Regions from separate parts of the Homo sapiens genome. Here regions 2, 3, 4 and 5 are each linked to region 1. The links are contacts of gene promoters, found by promoter capture Hi-C in blood cells and fetal thymus (Javierre and others, 2016). All regions are on one chromosome and are shown on one strand. The core of a region is centred on a gene start or on the middle of the fragment in contact, and the rest is flanking DNA. Distances in the headings are between cores, read along the strand shown. Region 1 holds the start of PEBP4-AS1 (PEBP4 antisense RNA 1). Region 2 overlaps PIWIL2 (piwi like RNA-mediated gene silencing 2). Region 3 overlaps PIWIL2 (piwi like RNA-mediated gene silencing 2). Region 4 overlaps PIWIL2 (piwi like RNA-mediated gene silencing 2). Region 5 overlaps PIWIL2 (piwi like RNA-mediated gene silencing 2).

What was found. Contacts are between HindIII fragments. The CHiCAGO score rates a contact against its expected background, and 5 or more counts as called.
Region 2: a contact is called between a fragment that was not itself captured here and the fragment with the promoter of PEBP4-AS1 in region 1, in 4 of 17 cell types (M2 macrophages, activated CD4 T cells, naive CD4 T cells and 1 more). The highest score is 5.3, in M2 macrophages.
Region 3: a contact is called between a fragment that was not itself captured here and the fragment with the promoter of PEBP4-AS1 in region 1, in 2 of 17 cell types (total CD8 T cells and naive CD4 T cells). The highest score is 5.3, in total CD8 T cells.
Region 4: a fragment that was not itself captured here is called in contact with the fragment with the promoter of PEBP4-AS1 in region 1 in 1 of 17 cell types (naive CD4 T cells); the score reaches 6.4 in naive CD4 T cells.
Region 5: a contact is called between a fragment that was not itself captured here and the fragment with the promoter of PEBP4-AS1 in region 1, in 2 of 17 cell types (naive CD4 T cells and non-activated CD4 T cells). The highest score is 5.1, in naive CD4 T cells.

The regions. Positions count from the first base shown.
Region 1 is chr8:22,876,641-22,879,328 of GRCh38, forward strand. PEBP4-AS1 (PEBP4 antisense RNA 1) reads left to right here and starts at 1,332. Exons shown (of 4, transcript NR_125433.1): 1 at 1,332-1,511. All of the region lies in intron 3 of PEBP4 (phosphatidylethanolamine binding protein 4), which reads right to left. RefSeq lists a silencer at 915-984. The HindIII fragment of the contact is 10,906 bases long and covers 1-2,688 here.
Region 2 is chr8:22,280,635-22,283,322 of GRCh38, forward strand. PIWIL2 (piwi like RNA-mediated gene silencing 2) reads left to right here. Exons shown (of 23, transcript NM_018068.5): 3 at 486-573; 4 at 743-881; 5 at 2,400-2,606. Among named protein-coding and RNA genes, the nearest start is that of PIWIL2, 6.7 kb to the left of the region's middle. The HindIII fragment of the contact is 5,060 bases long and covers 1-2,688 here.
Region 3 is chr8:22,302,595-22,305,282 of GRCh38, forward strand. It overlaps PIWIL2 (piwi like RNA-mediated gene silencing 2), which reads left to right. Exons shown (of 23, transcript NM_018068.5): 11 at 1,427-1,615; 12 at 2,190-2,274. Among named protein-coding and RNA genes, the nearest start is that of PIWIL2, 29 kb to the left of the region's middle. The HindIII fragment of the contact is 337 bases long and covers 1,140-1,476 here.
Region 4 is chr8:22,327,332-22,330,019 of GRCh38, forward strand. The region is part of intron 20 of PIWIL2 (piwi like RNA-mediated gene silencing 2); the gene reads left to right. Among named protein-coding and RNA genes, the nearest start is that of SLC39A14, 39 kb to the right of the region's middle. The HindIII fragment of the contact is 1,363 bases long and covers 710-2,072 here.
Region 5 is chr8:22,351,613-22,354,300 of GRCh38, forward strand. It overlaps PIWIL2 (piwi like RNA-mediated gene silencing 2), which reads left to right. Exons shown (of 23, transcript NM_018068.5): 21 at 1,347-1,600; 22 at 2,659-2,688. Among named protein-coding and RNA genes, the nearest start is that of SLC39A14, 14 kb to the right of the region's middle. The HindIII fragment of the contact is 267 bases long and covers 1,190-1,456 here.

The DNA of each region.
Region 1 (2,688 bases), core at 82-2,581:
GATGACAGTGTATGTTTATAGCGCTTGTGTTGTTGTGAAAATAAACAGCACTTGAAGTGTAAAATTAGAAGTAAATAAATGAGTTAGGAATTATTTTCTCCACTGTTTAAACAAAGCTACTTCTCAGGTGGGACATTAGCTTCCTTGGAGCAAAGCCAAAATCTGGCTTGGTTAGCCAGAAAATGTAAACACATTTCTGTTAATGTTCAGGGTAGAAAGGAGAACCTCTCCCTTAACTGCTGTGTGAGGCTGGACTAGTTATTCAACCTCTCTGGGCCTTGGACCCTTATCTTTAAAATGAGGCTAATAGTGCCTCCTTCATTAAGTCTTTGCCAGGACTGAAATGTACATTTCATAGCATGATGCTTGGATCAGAAAAGCACTCCATATATATTAGCTATTTGAATTATGATTTGGGTTTCAGGGAGTTTATTCCACCCTTATAAACATATCAAGTGGACACCATGTTTTGGTCTTTTCTTTCCTCCTCAAACCAGGCTGTGCTGAATGGGAATCCTCAAACAGCCCTCAGCCTCAGGGATAAGGTGTCCCAGCCATTTCTACTGTAATGGCTAAGAGCCCTTTTTGTCCAGTCTCTCCCTGTCCTCAGTTGTCCAGGTGAGGACAGCTGACTTTGGAATAGAAAGATGATGGGGCTACGTGTCCTTATTGTGAATCAAAACGTCAGGTCCATGTTTTGATTCTGAGGTCAGAATCAAACCAACCTCCTGGTTGGTTGGCAGGTCCTTGGGACTTTTGTGCCTTCAAAATGTCAGGTTATTTGCCCTGACTCCAGTAGCCCAGCACGACCCAAGTACTACATTCTTGGGCAGAGCCAGCCAGAGCCAGGAGGCACTGACTTTGTCTCTCCGTAGCCAAATGGCTGGGAAACTAGCTGGGAGGAGAGGAGGTGAGGCCAGCAGCTTGTGAACACACGGGCGGGCTCACTGTTGGCAGCGGGGAGGAGGCTCCTGGGCTGGGCTGAGCCCAGCCACCCTCACCCCAGGGGCCCACCACCCCACCTCCCCACCTCCCCCTCCTGTTATGAAACCCACGGGGACAACCACACATGTGGGCAGCCGGGGGCTTTCCTCGAATTGACAACAGCTTCTCGCTGTCGCTCGGCAGAACATGAGCTGCTTACATAAACACTGCCTCAGAGACACCTGCAGTGTGGGACGCAGGGAGTCGGAGGAGGGTGGAGGGAGAGGCAGAAAGCTGCAGGGTGAGAGAACGGCTCCCCACCCCACCATGGAGGGGCCGTCTGTGCATCCATACACTGCACACGCGTGCGCAGACACACACACACACACACAGACACACACGAAGTTGGTTACTTTCTCAGCTGTAACCAGGAGGCAGGGAAGAAGGCAATGCAGTCCTCATTCTTTAGAGACTCAACCTGTGTCCCCAGCCCTCCCCACCTCCTCCCACACCCCCCTCCAAACTCAGCTTGGCTGGGAAAGGAAACTCCCCAGTCTGCTGTGCTCCTGCAAGCTGAGTGTTTGCAGGTGAATCTACTCCAGGTACAGGAGCAGCTCCTGAGGGAAAGGGGGTGGAGGGTGAGCATGGAGAGGGAGGGGGAGAGGGAGGGAGGGAGGGAGGGAGGGGCGGAATCCCTGGAATTTAAGGTTAGAGAATATAGTAGGGGACTGGCCTGGTAAGATGGTATTTGGGGGCCTCTACGGAAAACACATCCTGCAGGTCAGACCAGCATGGGCTCTGCGGGAGAGGGTGGAGGGTCAGTGCATGCTCAGTGGGAGGGCTCTGAGAGGTGGCAGGACCCGGCCGTGTGGCAGTGGCCTTGGGTTTCCAAGTGGTGCTTTCTCACTTTTCTGCCCGTCAGTTTACCTGACACACCAAGTGACTGAGATTGCTGCCTGTGAGTTACCCTATTGCTCATATCTAATCACAAAGCGCAGACAGGTGGGGAGGGCTTCCCTCTCCGGGCCTGGCACCTCTGGGTTTGGGTACTCTGGCCTCCTTCCTCTGGGATGCTCACTCGGACTCTGCTACTGGCCAGCCTGAGCAAGTCGGCAGAGCACAGGATCTCCAAACAGGGGTGCATTCCCTGGCTTCATCAGAGAGGAGGCTTGGAGCTCAGGGAACAGAGAGCAAACTGGATGTCTAGGCCAAGCTGGATGCCAAGGGGAAAATAGCCCTCCTTTTGAAAGTATTCTTGCATTTTAACTGTCATCACAGTTAAGCCACCACGGGCAGACCCTGGAGGCTGGAAGAGGGCATCCAGAATGATGTTGGGCTGGTTTCTTATCACAGAGCACCGGGTAGGGGGATGAGCTAAAAATTATAGTTCTTGTTCCCAGCTTAGCGTGGCTATGGGGCGGGTGGTATCTCCTCTGTGTTCCTTCATCTCTTTAGAGACTGAAAGAGAGGACAAGCCCTTCCCCATGGGAAACATTTTACTATGCTCTATCCTAATCTCATCTCAGAGCCCACTCACAGTGAATAGATCTCAGCTAGGAAGGGAAGCAAATATCCCCAGTGACGATGAAGACCAGACATGGAGGTTTAACTGATCTGTGTGAGGCCACAGAACGAGAGTGTGGCCTCAACGCTCTCAATGTTGACAGAACAGCACTCAACATATTGCATTGCGACATGTCTGCTTCTGGACTGCCTATCCCACCAGGCCGTGAGCGCCCCAGAGGTGGGAACTATATCTTAGTC
Region 2 (2,688 bases), core at 122-2,621, 600 kb before region 1:
CAAGACTGCCACAGGAAAACAGTAGCAGGTTACACAAACCTCTGATACTCATAAATGATCCAGCTTTTTTGAAATGTATTAACCAGTACACTTGTTCTCTCTTGCCTTGAATATGCAGAAAATAGAAAAATGGAAAAGTTCTGTTGCATTTTGTTATACTGTTTATCAAATCAAAATGGAAAAATTAACTCTGTTCTGTTGCATTTTGTTATACTGTTTATCAAATCAAAATGGAAAAGTTAATTCTGTTCTGTTGCATTTTGTTATACTGTACACATCAAATCATGGGCCATAACTGTAACTGTGCTTTAAGACCTAATATTACATAGTTACAGGTATTTTTTAAAGTTTATAAAATGTTTCCCTTTATTCTTATAACATGTATAGAATTTGAAGATGATTTTATTATATACCAAGACTAAGAAAGCCCTTGTTTCTGGGGTTTTAAACTACCTCTTAGAACTTTATTCTTTGACTTTCCACAGGAGTCTGTGGGTTTGGTCTCCATGTTCCGAGGCCTGGGCATTGAAACAGTTTCTAAGACCCCTCTGAAACGGGAAATGCTTCCATCAGGTATGTGGAAAACTAACTTGAGAAATTTGGTGGTATGTATGATTGGTTTCTTCTAAAATCCAAATGGTTTATTTTCAGAAACGTAACTGTGCTTTTTTTAAAAAAAAAAACTATACTTTAAAACACGTTTAAGTCATAGTCATTGCTGGGGTTCGGTTCTTTCTTTCAGGTAGAGGCATTTTAGGTCGAGGCTTGTCTGCTAATCTGGTACGCAAGGACAGGGAGGAACTCTCTCCCACTTTTTGGGATCCAAAAGTGTTGGCGGCTGGGGACAGCAAGATGGCAGAGACCTCCGTTGGTTGGAGTAGGTGGGTAAAGTTACCCTCTCAGGTAACTATCAAATTCAGATGGAATATCTCTGTAAGTTCAGAGAGCAACTCTAAGAAGAGTTGTGTCATCTCATAATCAATGTCTGGTTTTATATTAAAGAATGCATATTTCTCAAGAGTAGTCAGCAGCTGTTAACACAGCTAGGCATTGGAAAAGGGTAAGAAGTAGTTCTCCACTGGGCTGTTCAAAAATTCATTTGTCCTCTTAAAAAATTACCCTGATCATGGTGATTTTTTTTTTTTTTTTTTTTTTGAGATGAAGTTTTGCTCTGTCTCCCAAGCTGGAGTGCAATGCCTCAATCTTGGCTCACTGCAACCTCCGCCTCCCAGGTTCAAGCAATTCTCCTGCCTCAGCCTCCCAGGTGTCTGGGACTACAGGCATGTGGCACCATACCCAACTAATTTTTTGTATTTTTAGTAGAGACGAGGTTTCACTGTGTTCGCCAGGCTGGTCTTGAGCTCCTGACCTCAGGCAGTCCACCCACCTCGGCCTCCCAAAGTGCTGAGATTACAGGCATGAGCCCCACTGTGCGTGGACTTTTTTTTTTTTTTTTTTTTTTAAGGGATGGGGTCTCACTGTGTTGACCGGGCTGGAATGCAGTGGGGCAATCTTGGCTCACTGCAACCTCCACCTCCCAGGTTCAAGCGATTCTCCTGCCTCAGTGTGCCGAGTAGCTGGGACTACAGGTGTGCGCCACCACACCCGGCTTTTTTTTTTTTTTTTTTTTTTTTTTTGGAGACAGTCTCACTCTGTCACCAGGCTGGAGTGCAGTGGCACGATCTTGGCTCACTGCAACCTCCGCCTCACACCCAGCTAATTTTTGTATTTTTAGTAGAGACGGGGTTTCATCTTATTAGCCAGGTTGGTCTCAAACTCCTGACATCAGGTAATCCTCCCGCCTTGGCTTCCCAGAGAGCTGGGATTATAGGCGTGAGCCCCTGCACGCAGCCGTGGTGATTCTTTAATAACGTTGAGTCAAACTTTCTCCTCTATTCTGCTATGGAAGATGGCTCTGACAGTCAATAGCAGTTGGTGAATGAGTCATGGTGGCATATGTTGTGTTTTTTTTTTGAAATTCGTTCTATCTCTGTCACCCAGGCTTTAGTGCAGTGGTGTGATCTCAGCTCACTGCAGCCTCGACCTCCCAGGCTGAAGTGATCCTCCCACCTCAGCCACCCGAGTAGCTGGGACTACAGTTATGAGCCACCATACCTGGCTAATTTTTGTATTTTTTATAGTGCGGGGTCTCACTGTATTGTTTAGGCTGGTCTTGAACTCCTGGGCTCAAGCAGTCTCCCCACCTTAGCTTCCCAAAGTGCTAGGGTTACAGGCGTGAGCCACTGTGCCTGGCCTTGGCATATGTAGTTTGAGAGAATTTGAAACTTGGATCCCTTTTGCTGTCTCCTCCAGGAAGAGATTGTGGAGTTGGGGGAATAATCTGGATGGGACATAGCTATTATAAAAAACCCTGATTTGCCTCTCTCTCCACATTTCAGGACGCTTGGAAGAGGGAGTTCAGATGCGTCTTTATTACCACTGGGAAGAGCAGCAGGTGGTATCAGCAGAGAAGTGGACAAGCCTCCCTGTACCTTCAGCACACCGTCCCGGGGTCCCCCGCAGCTGTCATCACCACCAGCTCTGCCCCAGTCTCCCCTGCACTCTCCAGATCGCCCTCTGGTCCTGACTGTGGAACACAAGGAAAAGTAAGTCAGGAGCACTGCCTTCTCTACTTAGTAATGATCGTGAAAACTCTGCATTTTGGCTCGTGTGTAGTATTGTAAAATC
Region 3 (2,688 bases), core at 58-2,557, 570 kb before region 1:
TTAACCTGGCTTCCTAGTGATCACCCCCTTGTCTGTAGAGCTTAGTCATTCGGATAATGATTTGGAGAGCAGTTATACTCAAACCCCATGACTCCATAAGGCTTCCATCTCTGCTAATGGATTTGTGTGTAGATTGAAGAATGCTTTCAAAATTAAATGTAGTTCTCCCATCTTTTTTGGCTTTTAACTCTCAGCTGAGATTTCTTGGCTCTCTTCTAAGCATAGATGGTTTCCCAGTCAGCCAAGGATGTGTGGCCTTCTATGGCTTTCTGATTACCAGGATTTAGCCCTTAAATTTCTAGTTGATGCACTGCCCACCTCAACTTAGACAACAAATCTAGGCTAACAGAACTTTGCTTTTCTCCATTGCCACTTGTAGTTGGCTTGCCATGGGTTCCCATCCCTACCCCTAGATTAAGTTTTCTCTATCTCAAAAGGTTGTACACTTTTTGGTTCTATTTCTGTAGGAGTCTCAAAATGACAAAGCTAGAGAATAGACTGGTAGTTACCAGATCTAGGGAAGGAGGGGGAGTGTGAATATAAAGGGCAGCAGGAAATAGTCCCTTGGTGGTGACATGCAACAGTTTGGTATCTGATTGTGGTAACCTATAGATGTGAGGAAACTGTATACACATACAAACACACCAGTGTATGTAAGTAACAATGAAAATGGAGTAAGATCTGTAGTCTAGTTAATGATATTATAGCAATGGCAGTTTTGTACATGAGACTCTATGTCCACATTTTGCAACTTTCTATGATTTGATGAGTATTTCAAAGTACGAAATTTTAAACAATTAATTTTAATTAATTTAGGGACAGGGCCTTACTTTGTCACCCAGGATGGAGTGCAGTGATGCTATCATAGCTCACTGTAGCCTCAAACTCCTGGGTTCAAGCCGTCTTCCCACCTCCCTCAGTCTCTGGAGTATCTGGGACTACAAGGTACGCCACTACACCTGGCTAATTTTTTAAGTTTTTTAGAGATGGGGTCTCGCCATGTTGCCCAGGCTGATGTCAATATCCTGGGCTCAAGCAATCCTCCCACCTTAGCCTCTCGAATAGCTGGGACTACAACTGTGAGCCATCATGCCTGGTAGGCCTATATTCTCTTATTTCCTGCAGTTCAGGCCCTCTTAAGCTTTTTCCTTTTTTTTCCCCCACCAAGGAAATAAGGTATCACTATGTTGCCCAGGCTGGTCTCCAACTTCTGGGTTCAAGCAGTCCTCCTGCCTCTGCCTCCTAAAATGCTGGGATTACAAGCGTGAGCCACTGCATCTGGCCAAGAGTCCCATCTTTTAACACAACTGGAGCCTTCTGGTGCTATATAGCTGTGATTAGATTCCTCAATTACTTGATCCCCTATCCCTTTCATACTGTTCTGGATATATACTGTGATCCAAAAGTCTTTTATCTCTTTCCAAAGGCATGCCATTTATCAGCAGAATAAAGAACACTTCCAGGATGAGTGTACTAAGCTTCTGGTTGGCAATATTGTTATCACCCGATATAACAATCGTACCTATCGTATTGATGATGTGGATTGGAATAAGACTCCAAAGGATAGCTTCACGATGTCTGATGGGAAAGAGATCACATTCTTGGAATACTACAGGTAGCAAGAAGAGACTGGGTTTGGGCCTCAGGGTGGGGGTTGGATGTAGTCCACGTTCTCCAGCAGATATTGAGTTCTGCAATAGCATACCACTTGACACTTTTCAAAATAATTGAATTGGTAATGTGTCTAACACTGAATGAGCTTGTTTGTGGGATTTGACTTGAGTATGCTACCATTATATCTTCAATTATTTTAGTAATTTGGAAGTTACTATATAAATTAAGGGCTTTGAATTGTTTTTCTGATTTTATTAGAAGTCTGGAGAGATTAAATTCAAGTCATTAATCATTTGACTGTCATTTCATGTTTCTATTGCCTGAACCCTTTAGCCTGATGTTTTTAACAAAGTCTTTCTTGAACTTTTAGCCTTATTTCTCCTATATTTAATTGCAACATAATTTGAGCCTGCTTTTTCCTGTTATAAATATATTATGATCGGTTTGCAGTGGCTCCTTGACAAGAGTATTATGCAAATTATATACCTCAGTCCTGGTTAAGAGACTCAGACTATGGTGCTCTAAGAGTATTGATGCTGCTTCTGAAATTTTTTCCTGCCTCTACTCTGCTCTAGCAAAAATTATGGGATCACAGTTAAGGAAGAGGACCAGCCATTGCTGATTCACAGGCCCAGTGAGAGACAGGATAATCATGGGATGGTGAGTAGGGCTGTCAGGCTTACAATTCCAGCTTAAGTTCTTCATCCTGTCAGCTGCTTTTAGCCGTCCTCATGGCTTTGTGGGAGCTGTGGAGTAGCAATCGTAGTGTAGTTGCGGAAAGCTGTGCAAGTGTTTGTCTGTCTCATCCAGCCAGAGGCACCACTCACACTGGTAAGATCTGCTTTAGAAGTCCCCACGAGGCGGAACTAAATATCCACATAAGCTATTAGGTTAAAGAGTTAAGGAGAATTTCCAGTGAAGGAAGATTAAAACTCTGAATCCATGAGGAAAGGTATAGATATTCATTTATTTATTTATTTATTTATTTATTTATTTATTTATTTGACGGAGTCTGGCTCTGTCACCCAGGCTGTAGTGCAGCAGCGCAATCTCAGCTCACTGCAAGCTCCGCCT
Region 4 (2,688 bases), core at 141-2,640, 550 kb before region 1:
TTAAATCATCACTGTTTTTTGTGGGGTTTTTTGTTTCGTTTTTTTTTTTTTTTGAGACGGAGTTTCACTCTTGTTGCCCAGGCTGGAGTGCAATGGCGCGATCTTGACTCACCACAACCTCCACCTCCCGGGTTGAAGCGATTCTCCTGCGTCAGCCTCCTGAGTAGCTGGGATTACAGGCATGCACCACCACGCCCAGCTAATTTTGTATTTTTAGTAGAGACGGGGTTTCTCCATGTTGGTCAGGCTGGTCTCAAGCTCCCGACCTCAGGTGATCCGCCTACCTTGGCCTCCCAAAGTGCTGGGATTACAGGCATGAATCACCATGCCCGGCTTGAATCATCACTGTTGTGAAGTATCTCATTGTGGTTTTGACTTGCGTTTCTTAATGACCAGTGATGTTGAACATCCTTCATGTGCTTGTTGCTCGTTTGTGTCATTCAAATCCTTTGCCCATTTAAATTGGGCTATTTGTCGTTTTGTTGTTGAGTCGTAGGAGTTTTTAAAATATTCTGGAAACTATACTCTTATCTGATGTATGATTTACAAATATCTCCCCCCATTCTTTAGATTTTCACTTGCTTGATAATGGTCTCTGCTGCACGAAAATTTTAAATTTTGATAACATGCAATTTATCTATTGTATCTTTTGTTCCTTATGGTTTTGGTGCTCAATCTAAGAATTCATTGCCAAATCCAAGGTCATAAAAGCTTGTCCCCTGTTTTTTTTTTCTAACAATGTTATACTTTTTAACTCTTACATATAAGTCACTGATTTGAGTTATACAAAGTGAGGTAAGGGTCCAGTTTTATTCTTTCGCATCTGGATATCTACTTGTCATAGCACCATTCGTTGAGAGAATTCCCCATTGAGAAATCTTGGCACCCTACTTGAAAATCAATTGTCATGGATGTTTGGGTTTATTTCTGGACTGCTAATTCTATTCCATTGGTCTGTGCATCTCATTTTATGCCAGTAACACACTGTTTTGATTATTGTTGCTTTGTAATAAGTTTTGAAATTGGAGAGTGTGAGTCTTCCAACTTTATTTTTCTTTTTCAGTATTGTTTTTGCTATTCAGTGCCCCCTTGGAATTGTATATGAATTTGAGAGAAGGTTTTTTTGTTTCTGCAAAAAAAGGCCATTGAAACTTTCATAGGGATTGTATTGAATATCTAGATTACTTTGAAGAGTATTGTCATCTTAACAATACTGTCTTCCAGCATATGGACACAGGATGTCTTTCTATTTATTTAGATCTTTTTAAATTTCTTTCAGCAGTGTTTTGTAGTTTCCATGTATAAGTCTTTACCTGTTTGGTTGAAGTTTATTCCTAGCTATTTTATTCTTTTGGATGCTATTGTAAATGGAATAGTTTTAATTTCATTTTTGGGTTGTTCATTGCTGGCATATAGAAACACAACTGTTTTTATGTGTTGATCATGTACCCTGTAACTTTTCTGAATGTGGTTATGAGCTCTAGTCGTTTTTTTTTTTTTTTTTTTAATTCTTTGGGATTTTCTAGATACAGAATAATGTCATTTGCTTATGGGAATGGAGTCTTCTTTCTTTTCAGTTTGAATTCTTTTTATTTCCTTTTCTTTCTTAATTTGCTTAGTTTATTTCCTTTTCTTCCTTAATTGTTATGGCTAGGATTTCTATTATGGTATTGAATAGCAGTGCTAAAATCAGGCATCTTTGTCTTTTTCCTGATAGTAGAGGCAAAGGTTTCAGTTTTTCACCATTGTATATGATGTTAGCTCTGAGTTTTTCATAAATTTCCTTTATCATGTTAAGAAAGTTTCTGCTCCTAATTTGCTGAGTATTTTTATAATGAAAGTGTGTTGGATTTTATCAGATGATTTTTCTGCATATTAACTTTTAACAGTCTTGTTCAGATTAATACCAAATTAATTTTAATAGTTGTGTCAGGCCATTCTTGCATTGCTGTAACAAGATACCTGAGACTGGATAATTTATAAAGAAAAGAGGTTTAATTGGCTCATGGTTCTGCAGGCTTTACACGAAGCATAATGCTGGCATCCACTCAGCTGCTAGGGAGGCCTCAGGAAGCTTACAGTCATGGTGGAAGGTGAAGCAGAAGCAGGCACTTCACATGGTGAAAGCAGGAGTAAATGAGAGAGAGAGAAAGTGAGAGAGAAGAAGAGGCGGTACACATTTTAAGTGACCAAATCTTTGTGTAAACTCAAAGCAAGAGCTCACTTATCACCAGGGGATGGCCCAAGCCATTCCTGAGGGATCTGCTCCTATAATCGAAACACCTCCCACCATGCCCCACCTCCAGTATTGGGAATTACATGTCAACATGAGATTTGGCAGGGACACACATTCAGACTGTAGCAATAGTATATAGAAACTTTGTTCCTGTATAGTTCTATTCTCTCCCACTTTCTTGGTGCTAATTCTGTATTAGCATTCCCCAGAGAAACTGGACTGATAGGGTGTGAGCATGTGTATAGATTTATTTTAACAAATAGGCTTACACAGTTATGGAGGCTGGCAAGTTCAAAATCTGCAGGATGAACCAATAGGCTGGAGACCCAGGGGATAGCTGATGTTGCAGGTCAGCTTTGAGTTTATCCTGCTTGGTGTCCCTTAGGCTTTGGGGATGTGTCCGTTAATGTTTTTCCTCAAATTTGGGAAATTTTTGTGTTAATTATTTACTC
Region 5 (2,688 bases), core at 73-2,572, 530 kb before region 1:
CTGCAACCTCCACCTCCCAGGTTCAAGCAATTCTCCTGCCTCAGCCTCCTGAATAGCTGGGACTACAGGTGTGCACCACCACACCTGGCTAATTTTTGTATTTTTAGTAGAGACGAGGGTTTCACCATGTTGGCCAGGGTGGTCTTGAACTTCTGACCTCAGGTGATCCACCCACCTCGGCCTCTGAGAGTGCTGGGATTACAGGCGTGACCCACCGTGTCCAGCCCATAATTTAGGTTTTTGAGGGTAAGTATGAACACAAACTTAGAATGAACCACACTCCACTAGAATCAAAACTGAATTAAACTAAAGCACTTTTAAAGGGAACTTCCATTTTAAGTTGAAGTGAACTTACCCTCTTGAATTTTGTTGCCCAGGCTGGAGTGTAGTGGCACAATCTCAGCTTGCTGCAACCTCCACCCCATGAGTTCAAGTGATTTTCCTGCCTCAGCCTCCCAGGTAGCTGGGATTAGAGGCATGTGCCACCATGCCTGTGTAATTTTTGTATCTTTAGTAGAAACAGGGTTTCAGCATGTTGGCCAGGCTGGTCTTGAACTCCTGACCTCAGGTGATCCACCCGCCTTGGCCTCCCAACATGCTGGGATGACAGGCGTGAGCCACCGTGCCTGGCCCTTCTTGAATTATTGAAGTTGAACACAACTAGAACACAATTATATTCCCTAAATGGGGGAAAAATTATTCTTCAAATTGCTTCAAGCAAGCATTTAATTTAATTTGGACCCATAGACAATTCACATAGCTAGCTGTTTGCTAATTACTTAGTTACAGTAAAAATGTTTTACTGTATGTTTACTGTATGTTTTACACCATACCAGACTGTAGGGTAATATTTAGTAAAGGGACGTTTCACTTGTCAGCAACTTGGGATATTTCCAGTAGGTAAAAATCTGATGGCAGCGGATCTGTGGCATATGTGGTCATATGTTAGAATTTCTCTAACACTTTACCTTATTCTTTGCCCCGACAGTTATTAGTGTTAAATCCAAGTAGAAGGAAAATTGATTCAGCCTGCAGTTTTCCCAGCATTCCTTTGAACTTTGTTTGCATTGTTTGTGGATAAGCCGTATGCATGTGACTCATAACTTGCATGTTTTGCTTTCATGTTTTATAACACCTTTGCTGCACCAGGCGTGTTTTACTACCCCAAGGAAGTCTAGAAATGATTAGAAGCTTTTTTTCCCTGCCCTCTAGGCACAGTAGCTTTGGCACTAACTGCAAAAGGATCTGCCATGATTCCAGGCTACACAATGCGAGTGGGCCTCTCACTGACTGTGGTCCGTAGCCTGAGGGCTCTGTGAGTCACCACATCCTCGCTGTCATTTCAGGTGAACCACTGTCTACCAGAGAAGATTGTGGTGTACCGTGATGGAGTGTCTGATGGCCAACTGAAGACAGTTGCCAACTATGAGATTCCTCAACTACAGAAGTGTTTTGAAGCTTTTGAGAATTATCAGCCCAAGATGGTGGTGTTTGTAGTTCAGAAGAAAATCAGTACTAATCTATATCTGGCTGCTCCTCAGAACTTTGTAACTCCCACTCCTGGAACTGTGGTAGATCATACAATAACAAGCTGTGAGTGGTAAGTGAGCAAAATATGTAGTATTGGAGGAAGAATAAGTTGGAGATGTTGTCACTTTCCTGAGTATTGGAATGGGGAGGTTTCCTGGAGAGTTGTGGACTAGAATCTCAGAGAGGCTACCGTTAAAAGAATGAAGGTTTAAAAAATATTTAAGGGCCTGGCATGGTGGCTCACGTCTGTAATCCCAACGCTTTGGGAGGCTGAGGCAGTTAGATCACCTGAGGTCAGGAGTTCAATACCAGCCTGGCCAACATGGTGAAACCCTGTCTACTGTAAATAACAGAAATTAACCAGGTGTGATGGTGTGTGCCTGTAATGCCAGCTACTCGGGAGGCTGAGACAGGAGAATCGCTTGAACCTAGGAGGCGGAGGTTGCAGTAAGTCCACTGTAATCCAGCCTGGGCAACAGAGAGAGACTCTGTCTCAAAACGAAACAAAAAAGATTTAAAAACAAGAAAGCTTTTACCTCTTAAGTGAAAAGTTGAACATACCTTGTTTTGCTAAGATAGCGTATGCTTAACTTCTACAGGAAGATAAGGGAGTTTCTACCACTTTTTTTTTTTTTTTTTTTTTTTTTTTTGAGGCAGGGTCTCGCTTTGTTGTCCAGGGTGGAGTGCAATGATGTGATCTCAGCTCACTGCAGCCTCAACCTGCTTAGGCCCAGGTGATCCTCCCACCTCAGCCTCCTGAGTAGCTGGGACAATAGGCGTATGCCACCATGCCCAACTAATTTTTGTATTTTTTGTAGAGACAGGGTCTTGCCATGTTGCCCAGACTGGTCTCGATCTCCTGGGCTCAAGCAATCTGCCTGCCTCAGCCTTCCAAAGTGCTAGGATTACAGGCATGAGTCACTGCACCCAGCCTGTTACCACCATTCTTCAGTAGCCTCTTGAGTCAGGAGACCTGGGTTCTAATCCTGGTCTGGCCTCTGTGTCCTTGATCCAGTCATTTGAGCTCTCTGAGCTTTAGTTGAAGGAGCTAGAACGATCTCCAGGATCTTTGCCAGCTCTGTCTGGCTGAATCCGACCATTTCACTGATTTATGGTTTTCCTTCCTAGGGTGGATTTCTATCTTCTTGCCCATCATGT